Linked DNA regions of Homo sapiens: regions 1 and 3 are each linked to region 2. Evidence: promoter capture Hi-C in 16 types of primary human blood cells and fetal thymus (Javierre and others, 2016). All regions are on one chromosome and are shown on one strand. The core of a region is centred on a gene start or on the middle of the fragment in contact, and the rest is flanking DNA. Distances in the headings are between cores, read along the strand shown. Region 1 overlaps DCDC1 (doublecortin domain containing 1). Region 2 holds the start of PAX6-AS1 (PAX6 antisense RNA 1). Region 3 overlaps WT1-AS (WT1 antisense RNA).

Evidence for each region. Contacts are between HindIII fragments. The CHiCAGO score rates a contact against its expected background, and 5 or more counts as called.
Region 1: a contact is called between a fragment that was not itself captured here and the fragment with the promoter of PAX6-AS1 in region 2, in 1 of 17 cell types (total CD8 T cells). The highest score is 5.2, in total CD8 T cells.
Region 3: a contact is called between a fragment that was not itself captured here and the fragment with the promoter of PAX6-AS1 in region 2, in 1 of 17 cell types (fetal thymus). The highest score is 5.5, in fetal thymus.

The regions. Positions count from the first base shown.
Region 1 is chr11:31,301,754-31,304,781 of GRCh38, forward strand. All of the region lies in intron 6 of DCDC1 (doublecortin domain containing 1), which reads right to left. Among named protein-coding and RNA genes, the nearest start is that of DCDC1, 66 kb to the right of the region's middle. The HindIII fragment of the contact is 1,016 bases long and covers 922-1,937 here.
Region 2 is chr11:31,814,897-31,817,834 of GRCh38, forward strand. PAX6-AS1 (PAX6 antisense RNA 1) reads left to right here and starts at 1,670. Exons shown (of 3, transcript NR_033971.1): 1 at 1,670-1,743. It also overlaps a transcript of PAX6 not described here. RefSeq lists an enhancer at 699-1,460 and a promoter at 2,907-2,938. The HindIII fragment of the contact is 5,434 bases long and covers 1-2,938 here.
Region 3 is chr11:32,435,599-32,438,413 of GRCh38, forward strand. WT1-AS (WT1 antisense RNA) reads left to right here. Exons shown (of 5, transcript NR_120548.1): 1 at 1-248. Among named protein-coding and RNA genes, the nearest start is that of WT1, 1.5 kb to the left of the region's middle. RefSeq lists promoters at 1-940, 1-392, 34-136, 1,040-1,376, enhancers at 1-14, 1,678-1,825, 2,415-2,815 and cis regulatory regions at 321-358, 343-469, 562-581. The HindIII fragment of the contact is 307 bases long and covers 1,372-1,678 here.

The sequences.
Region 1 (3,028 bases), core at 180-2,679, 510 kb before region 2:
ACACTTCTACATGAAAAGATGGCCTATTTTAAATGTGCTCACACATATTCTTGTCAATCACAAGCTGTCATAGCAAATTATTTCATTTTGTAGATCACATGGCAGTTACTAGAAAATCTCTAGGCTTAAATTTAGATCTTAGGTGTAGTATCAAGAACTCCTTTCATGCATTTTTTTCTGTGACTACGTCTTCACAATATTGGATCTAAAAGATTTAAAATCTTATTCATAATACCAAGTTTCACTTCTGGTTAACAAAACTCAGGACTGAAATGAATCACTGTAAATGATAATTCTGAAAGCCCAGTAATAGAATAGGATATACAGGAGAGAGTAGAAATATTCAACCAAAAAGTTTTAAAGACAATCAGAACTCCATACAACAGAACTTGGACCTAACGAATTAGGTCTAAATAGTGTTTTCTCCTCATCTTATTTAAGATATTCAGGCAATCACAGGGCACGAACCATTTATTATGCTATGTTTGCATTACTTACATACAGCTCCTAGCAGTTATAAAGGAACTGAACTCTTATAAACCCCATGGATCTGATCCAAGAATTTTCACTGTGTCACAATTAAGCAGAAGATTTAGGAAACTGTGAATAAAACCTAAACCACATGGCCATGAATCAGAAAACTTAATATGCCTTTTCAAACAATTCATTAACTACCTATTCATAATTTCAATGAATTATTAATAAATGTCAGAAACTTTAAATGCCAGAAGTATAATACCTAATAAGGCAACATTATCAACAGTATTTATATAAAATATTTCTATTTTCCTGATCTTTTCCATACACAATTAATATTTATGATTAAATATTCAACTTTAAAATGTAAGAATTATTCTAATACTGCATTTCAACAAGGAATGCTTCATGTCAGTCTTGACCTTGGCCTGACCTCCGTATGAAAGCTTTGTGTTTCAAGGTATGTGATGAATAGCTCTCCGGCTTTCTATTAGATCCAATGCCACTGGTTGTCAACAGTTATGCTCAAAAGGCGTAGTAAAATAGTTAAAATATCAGAGATGTTCTATAGGATTTTTTCTGTCTTAGTAAATCTGGAAATCGTTCTTAGGCAATTTTCTCCATCTACACTGCTTTTCCAATGAATAAGGAAAACCACTGAAGTATAGATATATAATTGCCAAAATATATACTGGCTTGTTTGGCCTTCCAATGCCAGAAATAAAATAAGATCCATTTGATTTATGTTGTAAAATAGTATTCTCAGTTTGAAGGATTCATAACTTATCTACTCAGTTTAAGTTCCTTAAAGGCCAGGACTTCTATCCCTATGCTGGGGCACACATAGTAGGTACTCAATAAAAATGTGTTGATTTAAATTTTGATTTAATTGCATTAAATTGAATTTAAATTAGAGATGAAAGAATAATGATAAAAAAGAAATCAGACTATGAACCACAGCTTTTATCTTTCTCTGACCTGGCCTAGTATCTAGCATATATAGACTCTCAATAAATGTTTGTTGAATGAATAAAAGTCTGTAAATTAAAACAATGACCAGTTATCAATTGTATATAAAATACTTATGCTCATTTAGAAAGATACATCATTAACACTTAATTCTGCCAATTGATTTCCCCTATTTACCTTTAGCATGTTCAATTATCCAACTTCTGATCATGTCTCTTTAAGTTTATCTACCACTTTCAAAGTTATTCACACGTTTTTATTTTAATGGTACACTTGTGGCTAGTTGGAAAATTATCGATTTATCTGTAAAACAGATGACAGAAAGGTAATCTTCAAGCTGATTTTGGTGGTTTGAAAAAGTGTATGTGAATATGTGAGTGATATGTAATATATCACTCACATCAAGTTAAATATTATCTTTCATATATAAATGTATATATGTTTACATTTATATTCTTAACATTCTGAAAGAAACCAAATATCATTGTTTAAGCTTATCTATAAGCTCAACTTAGATGAATGGCTTTTCCCCATTATACTTATCCTAACTCTTTTTAATGGACATGTGATATGCTAGTCTGTGTCCAAGCTCACCTACAATTTCTTTTCTCAAAAGACAAGGCACATCTGCCACCTGCTCTACTCCGTGTCCCAGCAACAACTGTCGAGCAGCATAAAGATTGATTATCAGTCAAAAACCATTGCACAACACCAGATTTTGGTGGGTTAAGCTTGCTGATCCAGCAAGAGATGGTGTGAAATTTTCAGGAATGTGTGCCAACATTTTGGTGCTAAAAGAACAGCAGTGCATGTCACAGTGAAACACAGCCAAAGATACGCAGACAAAGCAGAGAAGTTTTTTGTTCTGGACTTGGCTTTTGAAAAGGATAAAAGAGAAAACAAAAAGTAGGAGGAAATTAGTTAGTACATTTAAAAATCATCCACCAAGCTCAGTCATGTGTGTGACATTATTATTTCAGGCATACATGTCCAGGAGATTTTCTTCTTAGCTTAGCTATAAATAATTTTTATATGTCTCTTCTACAATACCATTATTCATATGAAAGGCAAGCATTTCTTATTAATAACAATAATCAAGGATCTTAATGAAGCAATCATTACAAATATATCTGAATTTTTTAAAGTCACAGAAAAGTATTTGCCCACTACGACCCATGTTTTTATATAAGCAAATGATTCAATGAATATAAAATTAAGGCAGCCAGCCATATTTTAAACTTAAAGCAAAATGTGAAAAATATATGAGTCTACACTATCACATAGGTAATTTTCAATGACCATTATAGCAACAAGTTTCTTTACAAGAATGAAATTTTCTTAAATTTTCTATTGAATTCAAGAAATTGCTTATTTCCTGAAGATCAAGTATTATATAAAAGAGAAATCCTAGCACAACTTTATACAATAACATTAACAGAAGGGAGATTTTTATCACCTCATCTGTAATGAACTCCAGAATTACTTTTCTTCTACTTATGCAATTACTGCCTAGACTTGCCTTTGATTCACTAGCTTTATAGAAGTTGCAGAAAAAAATTACTTCTAATAAAGTATAAAAAGC
Region 2 (2,938 bases), core at 420-2,919:
TCGCCCTTCCTCGCCTCCTGCCAAATGGCCAGTGCTAGGGGCTCCCTGGGTTCAGTCCTCAGTCCTCTTCCGTTCGCTCTGGGAGGCCAGCCTGTCTCTCTCTCTCTCTCTCTCTCTCTCTCTCTCTCTCTCTTTCTCTCTCTGTCTTCTCCCTGCCCACCCCCAAAATACCTTTAAAATAACATTGTCCAGTGGAGTCTCCCAGCAAAGGGATTCCTAGCAGCCCAGCGGGTCAGACTCCCAAGGCTTTGCCTCCCAGTCCCTCCATGCTGTTGTCCAGATAGGAGTTAGGTTTAAAACTCCTGACATGTAGGACAACTGAAATCAGCGGCACTCTCCGATTTTTGCAAATAGGGTTCCTAGAAAAGTTTGCTTTCCATTTCATCACCCTGTGACGATCCCCCCATCTCTCTTTTCCCTGTAACCTCTGCCCCCAAGAGGCAAGAGTTCAGCTTCAAAGGAAAAGCAAGCAAGTCAAGGCCACCTCAGTCCCTTCTCCCTGGATATCCCCTCTCTAAACCGCTGCCTATTCTAAAGGCCAACGACCCGGTCCTGCGATTTGTCCCGTTGTAGACCTGGGAACAGGCAGGCGGGAACTGGGGGCTTTACTGGGGGATTTGAGGCTGGGGAGGGGGAGGGAGCAAATGTCATGGCTGGCTCGCTCAAGCATCCAGGGAACCGAAGCTAAGCGCATCCTGACGGGCTTTTAAAATGACATTGATTAGGACAAGCTGTTCCCAACCCCAGTAAGAGTTAATCTGCCTGTTAATCAAGGCACTAAGGGGCTCAATGCGAGTTTTATTAGCGACAGGAGAACAGAGGCGGCAGCCAGGGATCAAAAGCCGGGATCCCATATATTTGTCAGCGCTATCTCCAAAAAAAAAAAAAAAAGTATTTTCAATTTGAAAACAATTCGGCGCTTTTCGTCACTTCCTAACCCAGTCTCACAGAGGGTGACTTCCAAACCTGGCTAGCGGGGAAAACCGCTGCCCGGGGGACAGAGGGGCTGACAGGAACTGCGGGTTGGCTCAGCCGAATGCGGCCGGGGAGAATTTAAGAATTCTCAGCCCGCGCGGCCCGATGCCTCTGATTCCTCACGAGAGGAAAGGGAATGAAAAATGAAGCAACAAATGACACCACCCAGGCTGGCAGCCCTCGTTCCCGGCCAGACCCCGCTCCTCAGGCCCGGCTCTGGCGCCGGGTGGCGTCCAGCCCCTGCACGCGCGGCGCGGCCCGCGGGAAAGTTTGTGCAGCGAGAGTGACTGTCCTTCCGCCTCGCGCGCGCTGCCCCCTTCTGCCCCGGAGGGGCGTTGGGTTCCCTTCGGTTTTCCTTTCCAATTCTAAAATAAATAAATAAACTCCGGGCCCTGGGGAAATCTGAATAGTAATTCCAGTCATCCAAATTCTATGAGAGGGTCTGAGGAAAAAAAGACAAGCCTATCACGGGCGCCCTCCGATCACGAAGGGCACGGGCATGAGAAGGCGACAGAGGAGGTCCTCGGCTCGCCCTGGGCGCGGAGCGAGGACTCTGGTCAGAGGTAATTATGTCACCGCGTTTTCTCGCCGTGACAGCCGAATAAACACGATCTCCAATAAACATCTCTAATGAGGGAGGAGGCCCGAGGATGGCTGGGTTTGATTTATGACTGGAGGAGAAGGTCCACTTCCCACTGCGAAGCAGGCGACCTGCTCGCCGCCCAGCTCCAGGGAGAGGAACCCGCGGAGGAGAGGATCCCGGCCCAGGTAAGGCGTGCGGCCGGACTGCCACTGCGCTCGTCCCCCGTTTCCAGGTGAGGTGAGCAGGGGGCGCCACCGCTCGGAGTCGGGCGGAGGTCCCAACACCTGTCACAGGTGACTGAGCTCCGAAGGTGCTCCCAGAAGACCTAGAAAGGGGGCGCAGGAGCGCGAGTGGGAGTGGGGGTTGGGGGCTAGCCGGGGCCTGGCCCAGAGGCCGCCCCAAACTCCCGGGCGGGGTTCTTGGGTGCCCCGCCTAAGCCGGCCTGGGCGTCTCCAGCTGCTTTTAGGGCCGGGCTCCCAGGACTTTCGCCCGGCTGAACCACAAGTTAGTCTAAGTTTGGGTCGTCCCTTCCCTGACTCACTAAGGGGACACTTCCGGGCCCCGGCTCTGGCCCTCCAAGGGCCGCAGGGTGGTGGGCGCTTCTCTTTCCCGGGCTTGGCGGCCCGGCTCCCATGGCGCCCGCGCGCTTCCCGCCGAGGCAGCCAGCGCAGCGCCCGCAGTAACCGGAGCCCGCGTTCTAGCTCAGTGAGAATCGCTAATTATTAGGTCTTCCGAAGTGAAGCTCAAATCACACGCTGGGAGCTTTACGCGCTGCCCAGCTCTGTCGGCCGCATTCTTTCGTACTCCGCGTCTTTCTGAGAAACGAACCCCATCTCTAGACTTTGTTGCGGTCCAGCCATCTGCACTTTGCAACCGCGGGAAACTTCTGCTGCACCTCGCCCGACCCGCGGCAGGGTGTCTTTAAGCGCTCCAGGCGCGGGTACGGACTTTCCCAAGCGTGGATGTCGTGAACTGCGATGCAGAGGAGGTCTGGATGCAAAGTGCGTCCCCACCTCCTGCATTTTTCGCGGTCGCGAGTGGCTTTAGCAGACAGCAGCAGCAGACTCCCGCCCCCTACTCCCAGCTCAGGGCCGGACTGGAAGTCCACTCTTAGGAGTGGAACATTTTGCTACTTTTGCAGAAGAGCACACTCGGCAAAGACAAGTCCCTCCTCCACCCCCCTTCCTATCCCTCCCTCAGTAACTCGCTTCCATCTTTGTATGCCTCCTTTTAAAAGCAAAAATCAAGCCCCGGGGCCACTTGGGGCGGGCTTTGATTTGGGGACAGCAGTCGCTGGCAGCGGAGAGGCCCCGCGGGCCCCGAGCCGGGCCGGGGCCGGAGCCCGGGCGGTTACCTGGGAGCGGAGGGCGGGGAGGCAGG
Region 3 (2,815 bases), core at 275-2,774, 620 kb after region 2:
GAGCCAGGAGGCTCGGCCGCTCCATTCACTCAGCAGCCCAAGCCCGGCCAGGCAGCGCGCGCTGCTCCTTGGGGGCGCCCTCGCAGCTGGGGTGAGGGCGGGTCCGAGGGAGCGTCCCTCTCGGAGACACCCTCCTCTTCAACCCAACACGCGCTCTCAGCTGGCCGGTGTGGCACAACCCTCCCCCCACCTCCCCTTCTTGGCCTTCGCCAGTGTGGGAGCCTCGTCTCACTGGAGAGTCCGTTCAGGTAAGCAGTGAGTCCGGGCAGGGTCGAATGCGGTGGGAGTAGAGATGGGGTTGTTAATCTAAAAGAGTGGTTTGGAGGGAGGGGCAGGTAGGCTCCAAGAGGGCGGGAACTTCAGGAAAGCGCAGAAAGAACTCAGTCAAGCTTCAAAGAAGCGTATACCCTTGCTTTGCACCCTTGAGTCTGGCTCTTGCTTCTAGAACTGTCGGGTAGGGGAGTGGCCATGATCTTGGGGTCACTGGGGAAAGAGGTGGCCCTTTGTGGGTTCCAGAGGTCGGGACTGAAAGCGAACGTCCCTCAGTTGGGTGGCCGGGAGTTGCACCAGTTATAAGCCGGGCGTATTTCGATCGGCTAGTAGTTGTTTACTTGGTGAGGTTTGCGCCAGGCGGAAGGCGGTTGCCGCCTACCTAAAATTGGAGTCAGCAGCACTTAGTTTCCCTTTCCAGTGAGGAATATCTAATTCTTCTACGGTTAAGCCGGGAAAACAGCGGCTAGTTTAGGAGGGAAGAAAACCCTTGGGCAAACGCCCAAAGCCTGCGTATATTCCGGCCGGAGCATCCTGGCGCCCAGTTTGGGGAGGAGGGGTGAAGGGGAGGGTTTGGATACGAAGCCCGGCAGGGAGCGGGTAACTCCTGGAGCCACTCCGCCGAGCACTGCCTGTGGCCCTGGTCGAGGATACCATTCTGGTTGCTCAGTGATTGACCAGGAGGCGGAAGCCAGTTAAGGGGACCAAGGAGTGGAGTAGGGAGAACCTCCATCGGCCCACGGGCGCGAGTTAGTGTTCGAATCTTTGGGAGCTCGAAGAGCTTCGCTAAATCTGACTCCCTTCGTCTAGTCTCTGTTTGGCAGCCCCCGCGCCCCAGAGCAGGTGTTTGGGGCGGGTAGGGGGTGTTTTGGTTTGGTTTTTGGATCTTCTAAAGGAGTCAGTATCTATTGGGAAACAACCCCTAGGCAAGGAGAAGAACCGGGGGCCGGAGCGGAGCGTGTTTCAGAGGTGCGTATAAAATCCCAGGGGCGCCAGGAGGCAGCAGCGACGGCGCAGCGTGGGACGGCCAGGCGCGACGGGAGGGAAGCAACCGGTTGCAGTCCGGCCTCCTGTACCTGGCTGGCCCGGGCTGGGGCTGCAAGCTTTCCAGCCAAACTTATGTGAAGCAAAGTAGTTGCAGTTTGACAAAGAATGGCGTTTCAATAAATGACATAGTAATTTTTTACGCTTTGGTTTTTAGCTTGCATTGCATAAACGTTGTCGCCATTAAATTCTGGCTGCGGACCCGAAGTGTGTGCGGGCCCAGGACTTACTCGAAGGGCGCACTTCTTGGGAATGCGCATCCCGTAGGCGCAGGAGACCCTGAGGGTAAAGATGCGGCACTTGAGCCCTCCGCTTGCCTCCCAGGCCACCTTTGCTGCTTGACTTTGCGTCGTCTCCACTCAGAAGCTTTTAAAATTATTATTAAGAAAAGAAAGATTCTACAAGACACTGCCCCCACGCTCTCTGCTCAGTCCTCTCCCACACGATCTATCCCTAAACCTTTCGCGGGGCTCGCGCGTTTGGTTTTTTGAGTGGAGAAAGGACTCTCGAGACAAAATTCACTGCCAGTTGCCCTAAGAACCCCCCAGATCCCTGTATCTCCCTTCCTTCTCCCCGCCTATTATTTCTACTTGGAAGTCGTTTTTCTTAACTAGGACTCAACTGTGAGGGGCGAGGAGCCCTTTATGAAAAGCCGGGGACTTTCATTTCCAAACGAAAAGATTGAGATTGTTTCTTCTTTTACCATCCTTGGCACTTTTAGCGGGGGGAGAGGAGGTTATCTGAAGGGAGGCTGGCTTGAATGTGAGTCGTTGTGTTTGTGAAACCCAGGTAAGGCAAAGACACGTAAATCTCTGCCAACATTTTTCAAAAATAAGTTTTTGCCCCGGGGTGAGGGATGTAGGGGTGGATAGGAGGAAAGGAGAGCCAAGCAAATGTAGAACTCCTCTCTCCTCTGCCATTTATTTTCTCAGAATCCTTGTGGGGGCGGGGAGGGGAAGAGCACCGGTGCGAACCCCGGGGTGCCCCCTCGCCCGACTTGGACTTCTCCGACTAAAGAGGTGGGAGGAGTTCCCTGCAGCCTGCGGGGCCAAGAAGAAAGTGCTAAGCTGAGGAGCCGCAGTCGGAGGACCCCAGGGACCCGACAGGAAGTCTCCGTACGACCCCAACGGATCCACATGCCCGGAAGCCCAGGCGACACTAAGCCAGCGCTGGGGAACTGACGTACTCCTGCAGTCGCAGGGCGCTCCATGCCTCTCTGTCCTCTTCTTTGTTGTGGGTAACGTTCTCTGCGGGAGACCTGAGGTTTTCCAAGGGGGACATGCCAGCTACACTGGCCTTGGCGCCCTGAGCTAAGCACCAGGACTCACAGCCTAGCACGAAGGCAGGTAGCACCTTCACCCGCCGCGGACGATAGGCGCTCTCCTGTACCTCCTTTAGCTCGCGAGGCCCGCCCTTCGCGAGGTCCCAGAGAAAAGCAGGCTGTGGAAAACTGGGCGCCCCCTTCTTTCACCCACCTTCTTACCCCTGTCAGCGCCGAGAT